3 separate regions of the Homo sapiens genome follow, and regions 1 and 3 are each linked to region 2. The links are contacts of gene promoters, found by promoter capture Hi-C in blood cells and fetal thymus (Javierre and others, 2016). All regions are on one chromosome and are shown on one strand. The core of a region is centred on a gene start or on the middle of the fragment in contact, and the rest is flanking DNA. Distances in the headings are between cores, read along the strand shown. Region 1 overlaps IPMK (inositol polyphosphate multikinase). Region 2 holds the start of TFAM (transcription factor A, mitochondrial). Region 3 overlaps IPMK (inositol polyphosphate multikinase).

The links. Contacts are between HindIII fragments. The CHiCAGO score rates a contact against its expected background, and 5 or more counts as called.
Region 1: a fragment that was not itself captured here is called in contact with the fragment with the promoter of TFAM in region 2 in 4 of 17 cell types (neutrophils, monocytes, activated CD4 T cells and 1 more); the score reaches 10.4 in neutrophils.
Region 3: a contact is called between a fragment that was not itself captured here and the fragment with the promoter of TFAM in region 2, in 2 of 17 cell types (monocytes and neutrophils). The highest score is 7.1, in monocytes.

Annotation. Positions count from the first base shown.
Region 1 is chr10:58,239,301-58,242,491 of GRCh38, forward strand. All of the region lies in intron 1 of IPMK (inositol polyphosphate multikinase), which reads right to left. Among named protein-coding and RNA genes, the nearest start is that of IPMK, 27 kb to the right of the region's middle. The HindIII fragment of the contact is 3,191 bases long and covers 84-3,191 here.
Region 2 is chr10:58,384,160-58,387,534 of GRCh38, forward strand. It overlaps TFAM (transcription factor A, mitochondrial), which reads left to right and starts at 1,251. Exons shown (of 7, transcript NM_003201.3): 1 at 1,251-1,489; 2 at 2,061-2,179. The coding sequence starts at 1,389. RefSeq lists enhancers at 702-801, 995-1,651 and a silencer at 932-1,311. The HindIII fragment of the contact is 8,486 bases long and covers 1-3,375 here.
Region 3 is chr10:58,219,910-58,223,098 of GRCh38, forward strand. The region is part of intron 3 of IPMK (inositol polyphosphate multikinase); the gene reads right to left. Among named protein-coding and RNA genes, the nearest start is that of IPMK, 46 kb to the right of the region's middle. The HindIII fragment of the contact is 2,444 bases long and covers 180-2,623 here.

The sequences.
Region 1 (3,191 bases), core at 429-2,928, 140 kb before region 2:
TCCTGAAGGTTCAGATGGAGCACAAGAAAGGCCTTTATTCCCATGGTTATAACATTTTCTGTGGGGCTTAAAATGAGTAAAGAAGCTTTGATGAATAGAATTCCAGAGGAAAATAAAAATTGAACTTTCATAAGTAAGCAGAGAACCATGACAGCTTCCCTGCCTTGGGGCAAACACCTTGGTCTAGATACAGGTGATCTTCCCATTAGACAAATACATTTTATCAGGCAAGCAGTAATCAGCCAAGCGGTAGACAACAGCATGGGATAGCAGGATGGATTAGAGACTGTAATAATCCCAACACAAAAAGAGATTGCTTCGTCCAATATGTCTCCCATATTACTCACCCTGCAACATAACCCCTCACGTTTGAGAAGACAGAAGGTGGTAATCTCGGCATTCTCTAGGTGAGTGAATTCCAGGATCCAAATAAACCAACAGTAAACCAACAGTATCTGAGCCTGCAACCAAATCCCCACCCCCAGCTCAAAAACTGTCAAGATAAAAAAGGAGGCACCTTGGAATGCTGAGCCAATAACAGATACACTGAAACTGAGACTGCAGCCTAGCACTAGCTCAACTAAACTCAGTCCCTTACCCTAAACACAGGAAAGGGCATGTACTGCACGGGGGATCAAAACAAAACAAAAAATAGTACACATCACTTCCCACGGTTCTTTAAATAAAATGCCCTAGATTCAAGAAAAAATTATGACACATACTCAAAATATCAGGAAAACATAAAGCACAATCAAGAGAAAACATAATAGGAGATGACACACAGATGACCAAGTCATTGTAATTAGCAAGCAAGCATGTTAAAACAAAAAGTATAAATATGCTAAAGAAACAATAGAAAAAGATGAATGCAAATGCTAAACAGATTAGGTATTTCAGGAGATAAACTACAAAAAAAAACTCTAAAACTGAAAAGGCACAGTATCTGAAATAAAAAATTTAATTAATGGGATTTAATCAACAGATAAACAATCACAGAGGAACAGAGCAATGAACATTCACAAAGACCAATACAAAATATCTAAATTAAAGAAAATACAGAAAAGTATCTAAAAAGAAAAAAAAAATGTATAGAGCATTAGAAACCCATAAGGTAATACCAAGAGTTTTTAACAAATGTGTAGTTGGGGTCCCATAAAGAGAAAAGAGAATGGGCCAGAGAAAAAATTCTGGGCTTTCAAGTTTCCACCTAGGATATAGAAAGCTGGAAGAAGCATTGCTCCCACCTAAAAGCAAGAAAAAGCTAGATAATCTACAAAATCATAACTTTTCACGAAACCATCAAAGTGTTGAGATAATAACCAACAGACTTGAAATCTAAAGGAAGACATACACCACGAAAAAAAAAAAAAAAAGACAAATGAGAGCACTGACTCACCCATGGAGCGGAATGGGAAGGTGGGGTTACCTTACAAGGGGGTTAGAATAATAAAGCTAAAATTTTTAACAAATAGCTAATGGCAAAGTGTAGATTCCAGTGAGGGTATAGAACTCCCAGAAGTTGCAAACACTTGCAGCATTTTCTTCCAGGCCGTCAAGAAAAAGACTGGAGAGAGGCAGAAAGCCAGAAAAAGTGACCATCAGAGGTACAGGCATTAAGGAAGTGAAGCACCACTACTAAAAAAGACCCTTTTCCCCTCTGGATCAAAAGTCTTAAGTTGTTGAGGTAAGAGCAGCAAATCATGTTGTCCCCAAGAAACAAGTGACAAGCCATTGTGGATGGCAGAAGAATAAAGAAAAATATTCTCCAACACTGGGAGGGTGAAGGAAGACAGGAAATCATATGCAGTCCTAACTTTAGAGGTCTCCTACTGCTGGGGGTGGGAAGGAAACTCATACAAACGACTTGCTGAAGGCAGAAGGCAGTCTGACTTCTACAGGAAAGAGGGGCAGGATACCTGAACAAGTCCCATTCCCCAAAACTTAGGATCACAGAGCCTACCTAACATTGAATCTGGGCCAAGACAATAGAGGATACCTCTGCAGCCTAGCACCAGGGTAGCTATCACCAAGTAAAAAATAATAGTAATCTACATTTGCGGGAGGGGCACGAACATAGAGAAAACCACCTCTGAGGCCTAGGTGCACAAAGAAGACCTAAAGTAGACAGTTAAACAGAAATACTGAGAAAAATCCTCTGGCAAATCAGACCCACCCTAAACAAAAGACGACACTAGCAGAATTTCAAATCTGTGGTGCACTGACAGTATTTTAGTCAGCCAGGGTTTGCATAACAAAATGCCATAGACTGAGCAGCTTAAACCACAGAAATTTATTTTTCCATATTTCTGAAGGCTAGAAGTCCCAGACCAAGGTGCTGGGAGATTTGGTTCCTAGTATGGACTCTCTTAGCTTGTAGAAGGTCACCTTCTCACTGTGTTCTCACATGGCAGACAGCTAACTCTCTAGTGCCTTTTCTTATAATGATACATTCTGTTGGTTCAAGACTTAACCCTTATGACCTCATTTAACCTTAATTACCTCCATAAAGGTGCAATCTCCAAATATGATTACATTTACAGGGGAGGGGGGCTTCAACATATGAATTTTAAAGGACACAAACACTCAGTCCATAACAGAAACCAACTATAACAACAATACTTACATTTATCTCAACTCCTCATTAGATTGGTTCAAATCACCAACATTACCAGTCAAGCAGAAGAGGTATAATCATTTCAGTAACAAATACTGTTGGCTTCAGTTTGCTACAGTCCTACACATGATGCCCACCAGAATTTAATAAAAATTACAACAGATAAAAAAGCAAGGAAAATAATACCGTCAACAAATACAGCAAAATACAGACCAGTATCAGAAATGACAGTGATGTTAAAATAATCAGACAGGGGAACTTAACCATAATTAATATGTTAAAGCTGTAATAGAAAAAGTACACAACATGGATGAAAAGACATCACGAGGTAAGGAGATCGAGACCATCTTGGCTAACATGGTGAAACCCCATCTCTACTAAAAATACATAAAAAAATTAGCCAGGCGTTGTGGCGGACGCCTGTAGTCTCAGCTACTCGGGAGGCTGAGGCAGGAGAATGGCGTGAACCCAGGCGGTAGGGGTTGCAGCGAGTCGCGATTGTGCCACTGCACTCCAGCCTGGGCGACAGAGCGAGACTCCGTCTCAAAAAAAAAAAAAAAAGAAAAGAAAACAAAAG
Region 2 (3,375 bases), core at 1-2,500:
TTCCATGCCAGAATGGGAGGTTTGAACAGATGACTTGGAAGGTCCCTTTCAACCCTGGGAGTCTATAAAAGGGAAGTGGTTATTACCGCTTAAAAGAAGAAGTAGGCTTAGTCCTACTTCCAGAGAGCCAATGTTTTCATAGTTACAGAAAGGTAAATAGACTGTCAGCTCAATATGACACTGGTAAGAATTTTCTAACAATTACGGCTATCCAACAGAAGAAAGGCTGTCTCAGAAGGTGGTTAGCTCTGAAACAACTGGTATTTAAGGGCTGGAAGGACCCTTAGGTATCTTTAGGTCTTCCTAATCTTTTTCATGCCATTGCCTATACAGAAAATGGTATTTCTATAACACAAATAAAAAAATTATACAGCAATTTTTGACACATCAATGTCTCAAGGCATACTTGTCACACGTTCTCAGGGCTTTGGCTGGGAAAACTGATTTAGTCTAACATCCTCGTTTGCAGAGGGGGAAACTGAATCTTAACGAGGGAATGCAATATTCCCAAGTCAAGACGTTAATGTTAATACTGGAACTAGAAGAATTGAGACTAGCGACTGTGGACAACTAGCCAGTTTCCTCTGCTCAAATTAAGCAAGCTGGAGGCCAGACTGAAAGACTGCAGTAGATGGTAGAATAAACAGTCTAAAGCTATATTGCTTTAAATGTGGTCTCAAGACCACCGACATTAGAACTTGTTAAATTCTGGGGAACTCGCTAAAATGAAGATTAATGGGCCCCACATAGACACACGGAATTAAGCTCTGCGGTAAGGCCTTGGAATCTGCATTTTTAGGTTTGCGAATCCCCGCCTCTCCCGTTACTATTTCTGAACTCCGAGCTCCAGCCCTGGCTTGAACTGAGACGCTCCGCTGGGCGCGCAGCAGCCGCCGATCGGACCTCGGGGTCCTGGATGCAGGACTGTCTGTTACGTACAGCCCTTGTGACCGTCACGGGCGGACACCGGCCAACGCCGGGTTGGGGTGAGGCCGCCGCCGCGGTCCCTCCATCACCCTCCTGGCCCGGCAGAGGAACCCACTGCTCCGGGCGGCCGGGGACAGAGGTGGCTCAACAGCGCCGCCTCGAAGCCAGAGCCCTCCGCAGGCTAGAGGATTGCGGTTTCCCTTCATCTCCGCGGCTCTTATTCCTCCCCCGCAAGGCCGCCCACCGGGGTACGCTCTCCCGCGCCTGCGCCAATTCCGCCCCGCCCCGCCCCCATCTACCGACCGGATGTTAGCAGATTTCCCATAGTGCCTCGCTAGTGGCGGGCATGATAACACACGCCGGAGGGTCGCACGCGGGTTCCAGTTGTGATTGCTGGAGTTGTGTATTGCCAGGAGGCTCTCCGAGATTGGGGTCGGGTCACTGCCTCATCCACCGGAGCGATGGCGTTTCTCCGAAGCATGTGGGGCGTGCTGAGTGCCCTGGGAAGGTCTGGAGCAGAGCTGTGCACCGGCTGTGGAAGTCGACTGCGCTCCCCCTTCAGGTAGGCCCGCTTGCCTGTGCCCTAGGGGCAGCAGGGCCCAGGACGTCCCGGGGTTGGAATGTAGACCCTATCCTTCACTTTCTGCCCCTCCTAGGAGTTCAGAGTCACCCTGGTTCTTTGATTCAGACCGCGACCTTGCCAAGGGGACGGTGGCCTTGAGACCAGGCCTTTATTTACTCTCTTAATACGCCGTACCTTCTTGCTACCCTCCACTCGCTTCTCCCATCCCTCCTCACTGTCCAGCTTTGGATCCTTTCCGCCTCCTCTGCGAATTCGCGCCGAGTCTCCGGCCATCATCTAGGCATTGAGGAGGCGGGGCCCAGGAGCTGGAGTATAGACGCTTTCCTTCACTCCCTGCCCTTCCTAGGAGGTAAGGGCTTTGAGACTTCAGTCCTGCAGACGCTCCCCTCCGTTTAGGACAGGGTTTTAATAAGTCTCTAGCATTCTTGTTGAAGGCGTTGGATACATAGTATCTTGATGACATTTCTTATTTGGGATCTGTGTTCATATACATGTGAATATTGACAGTTAAACATCTGACACTGGTTATTTTCTTTTTGTTTATATGTAGTTTTGTGTATTTACCGAGGTGGTTTTCATCTGTCTTGGCAAGTTGTCCAAAGAAACCTGTAAGTTCTTACCTTCGATTTTCTAAAGAACAACTACCCATATTTAAAGCTCAGAACCCAGGTAAGGAGTTTTGGGGCATATACCCTTTTCTCATGTAATAAAAATGCCATTAAGCAGTTAAATACCAATGTTGAATTGCAGTGCTAAAGCATTCAGTGACTGCAGGAACAATCATTTGATGTCTGTAAAATAGGAAGTTCTATTTTATACCAAATGGAAATGCTTTAAATATAAATGAGAACTAGTAAATGGTATTTTAAAAATAACGTATAGTGTAGAAAGCACCCTAGGAAGAGGATAAAAAAGCTGAATTTGGGGCCTTGTTGCCTTTGGTCTAGAGGACCACTGATGAATTATTTTCTCTTGCCTAGCTCCTCCTTTTTCTGGCTCAGGGAATTGTTAATAAAGTTGCAACTTCTGTGGAAGCATCCATAAACTGTAAGTTCTGTAGAACTGTAAAGTTCTATGCAATTTACTGCTAATTTCAAGAGCTTTCAAGATAAGAAAGGATAAACCTTTTCATCATAGGAGTTCAGAGCCACTCTGGTTCTTTGATTCAGACCTCGACCTTGCCAAGGGGATGGTGGGTTGTAAAGGATAAATCCTTTCTTGTCTTGGGTTCCTAAAAAAAAAACATTTCCAGGTAGGATGTTTGTTGACTCTCTAGAAAGCCTCTCGGCGAGAATAAAAAATGCTCACATCAGGCTGGGTGAGGTGGTTCACACCTGTAATCCCAGCACTTCGGGAGGTCGAGATGGGTGGATTGCTTGAGCCCAGGAGTTCGAGAACAGCCTGGGAAACATGGAAATCCTGTCTCTACCAAAAATACAAAAATGAGGTGGGCATGGGGGCGCAGTGCCTGTAGTCCCAGCTACTTGGGAGGCTGTGGTGAGAGGATCACTGGATCCCAGGAAGTTGAGGCTGCAGTGAGCCATGACTGCTCCACTGCACTCCAGCCTGGGTGACAGAGCGAGACCCTGTCTCAAAAAACAATAATAATTTTAAAAAAAAGCTCACATTATAGGTAAGGAGTTAGTTTCAGAGACATGCTTAAGTACCCACATCTTTTAAATGTAAGAGTTAGTACTAACAGGTATTTTTAAAAATCAATTAATTGCACGCCATCATTCCGGTTAAGATGAAGAAGGAAGTGGAGAATAACAGATTGAATTTCGAATAGCTTGTTTCCAAATGATATTTCTGTTATTGAAATACGAGGCTGTGTTATATGGATCGAGAATGTATTTTGTTGTTAG
Region 3 (3,189 bases), core at 152-2,651, 160 kb before region 2:
AAAGAAGTTTTAAAAACACTTGACTAGATAGAATGTCACTCTGTCATTAGCATGTCTGCCCAGCTCAAGAACTATCCTCAGTCCTACAGAAGTGGTCCCTTTGCCAACACCATCATACTTTGGGAATCCAGCCCATGGCCCACAGTCACTGACTGGGGCAGGAGCAAATATCTGATACAAGCTTGGTCAGTCTTGCCAATTTGGAAATGGAATGCAGAGAAAACCTGTTGCTGACCTCTGTGGGTGACTGGTACTGTAACATGTAAGTCCCTTGGTAGGGAGGGGAGAGGTGTGGATAGCAAGGAAGGCAGAGGAGAGAAGAGGAAGGGTTAAGTAAATATGCAGAGAGAGATCTCCCTGGGCTTTGATAGGGTTCAGATTCTAGTTCCAGTCCCATCTTAGACTCAGATGCATGGCCCTTGGCTTTCATAAGACACCCTCATATCCTTATAAGAACTTTTCCTTGTTGCTTAATCATGTTCAAGTTCATTTCCATAACTTGTGCCCAAAGAATCTTAACTGAGATGATAAAGTTTAAAGCAACTGCTTTAGAAGAAGAAAAAGGAGGCTCAAATCTCAACTCTATAATTTGCTAGCCTGTGACCTCAGGAGCACTTCTCAAAACCTCAATTATATGTAAAATGCAGATAATTACAGACTCTACCACAGGGATATTAAGAAGACTAAATGAGATAATATACAGTAAAGCACTTAGCATAGTGTCAGTCCTCATCCCATAAATGCAGGTTACACATTCCCATATCCCCTCCAAAATAAAATTTCATACATTCCATATATAATTACTGTCAAGGCACACAGGTGAAGAAAACAGATAAAAACCTGCCTTCATAGAGCTGCTTTTGAAGAGTTGAAATCGCATTACACTTAGCATAATTGCTGCTACGTATTTGGTACTCACTGAATATTTATTCATTTTACCTCTAAGTATATATAAATATTAAACAAGTAAGTCACTGATAAGTATTAAAACCTGCTAACCATGTTAGGTCACCAATGAGTACAGGTCTAACTTTGATATTCAGTATAAATAAAAATAGAAGATGATTCCCTGGAGTCTATTCTTACCCTTCCAGATGAGACAAGCATAATACACACAAAATTAAAAGATGTATTCATAACTCAATTATGCACTTGATAATGGATATTCTCCAACCCTCAGGCTAATATCAAGCCTTAGCCTTTAGTTATATTAAAAAGAATACTTATATGTAATAAACCTACTTATTACATATTGATTTCACCTCAAGTTAAAGTAACTCTCTTTTGCATGTGTCATGACTGCAAAACACACTCAATCTGACCACTAACCTCAAGTATGCCCTTAAAGTTGCTCAACTATCATGATCTGTTTCCCAAATCTCCTCACTTTTCCATCCTCTGAGACTACTATTTCATCCTTCCTTCCCCCATCATCCATAAGCTCAGCTTGCCTATTTTTTTTTTTTTAAATTCTGAAGAAAAAGCTACAGATTAGTCAAGGTTATAGATAGTAAAGATTACTACAGTAAAGATTACTACAGCTAGGTTTTCTTTGATGCAATAATAACATAAAAAAGATGACAGCAAATAAGAAATTTGTTCTAAGACTGATCCAAAAAAATATAATGAACTAAAAATAAGATAGATTTCTGTTGTTATTGTTGTTTGAGACAGGGTCTTACTCTGTCACCCAGGATGGAGTATAGCAGTACAATCATGGCTCACTGCAACCTCAAACTCCTGGGCTAAAGTGATCCTCTCGCTGCAGCCTCCTGAGTAGCTGGGACTACAGGTGCATGTCACCACACCCAGCTAATTTTTATTTTTTTTCTTTTCTTTTCTCTTTATTTTATTTTTGAAACAGGGTCTCTCTCTGTCGCCCAGGCTGGAGTGCAGTGGTGTGATCTTGGCTCACTGCAACCTCCACCTCCTGGGTTCAAGCAATTCTGCTGCCTCAGCCTCCTGAGTAGCTGGGACTACAGGTGCCTACCACCATGCCCAGCTAATTTTTGTATTTTTAGTAGAGACAGGGTTTCACCATGTTGGCCAGGCTAGTCTTGAACTCCTGACCTCAGGTGATCCACCCGCCTCAGCCTCCTAAAGTGCTGGGATTACAGGCATTAGCCACTGCACCTGGCCTAATTTTTAAAATTTATTGTAGATATAGAGTCTTGTTATGTTGCCCAGGCTGGTCTTGAACTCCTGCCTTAAGCAATCCTCCTACCTTCGCCTCCCAAAGTGCTGGGATTACAGGTGAGAGCCAATGTGCCTGGTAAGATAGATGTGTTCTATCTGGAATAGTTTAAGTTCACTCTGTTCAAGGTCAAGAATATAAATTAGGCTATATTAATATGATGATTGGAAAATATCTTGTAAAATAATTATGAGTATTTCACATGATGTAGTTTACAAGTAAAGGCAGAATTTTGAATATTAGAATAGAGCTTAATTTTACATATCTATATACCTCTCATAGACGTGTGTGTATCATAAAGATAGCACAATTAACTAGATTTACTTTTATAACTCTGGAAACTCTATTTAGGACTCTTATGAAGTGAGTCCTGCAGAAGTCTAAGGACTGGCACTTGTAAACCCCAGATCTAAGACAGAGAGTCTGTAAAGCTTAGTGCTGGTACTTGTATAATAAATAAAAGGATATCTACTCTTCATAAATATGTGGAGTTCATTTCAAGAGGTAACTATGTTTAGAAATAAAGCTACATTTAAGAGGCTATGGCTAATAACCTATCACTTATTAATTTATAGAAAGTATATAAAGAATTTCTATAGTGCCTTAATTTTTCTGAGGTAAAGATCATGAAAATACCACGTGTTCAGAAATATAACACTTCCTGCTGTTTTAAGTAGACTACATAAGATCACTCTGTGGCTTTACCAAGGATATTGTTTTCATGCCCAAAATATTTATGTATTTCATGATGCTGATGATAGTATGAGATTATATTAAGTGAAGTAACTCAGGAATGGAAAACCAAACATCATATGTTCTCACTCATAAGTGGGAGCTAAACTTTGAGGATGCAAAGGCATAAGAACAATACAATGGACTTTGGGGATTCCGGGGAAAAGGCGGAAGGTGGGTGAGGGATAAAAGACTACACACTGGGTACAGTGTACACTGCTCTGGCGATGGGTGCACCAAAATCTCAGAAATCACCACTAAAT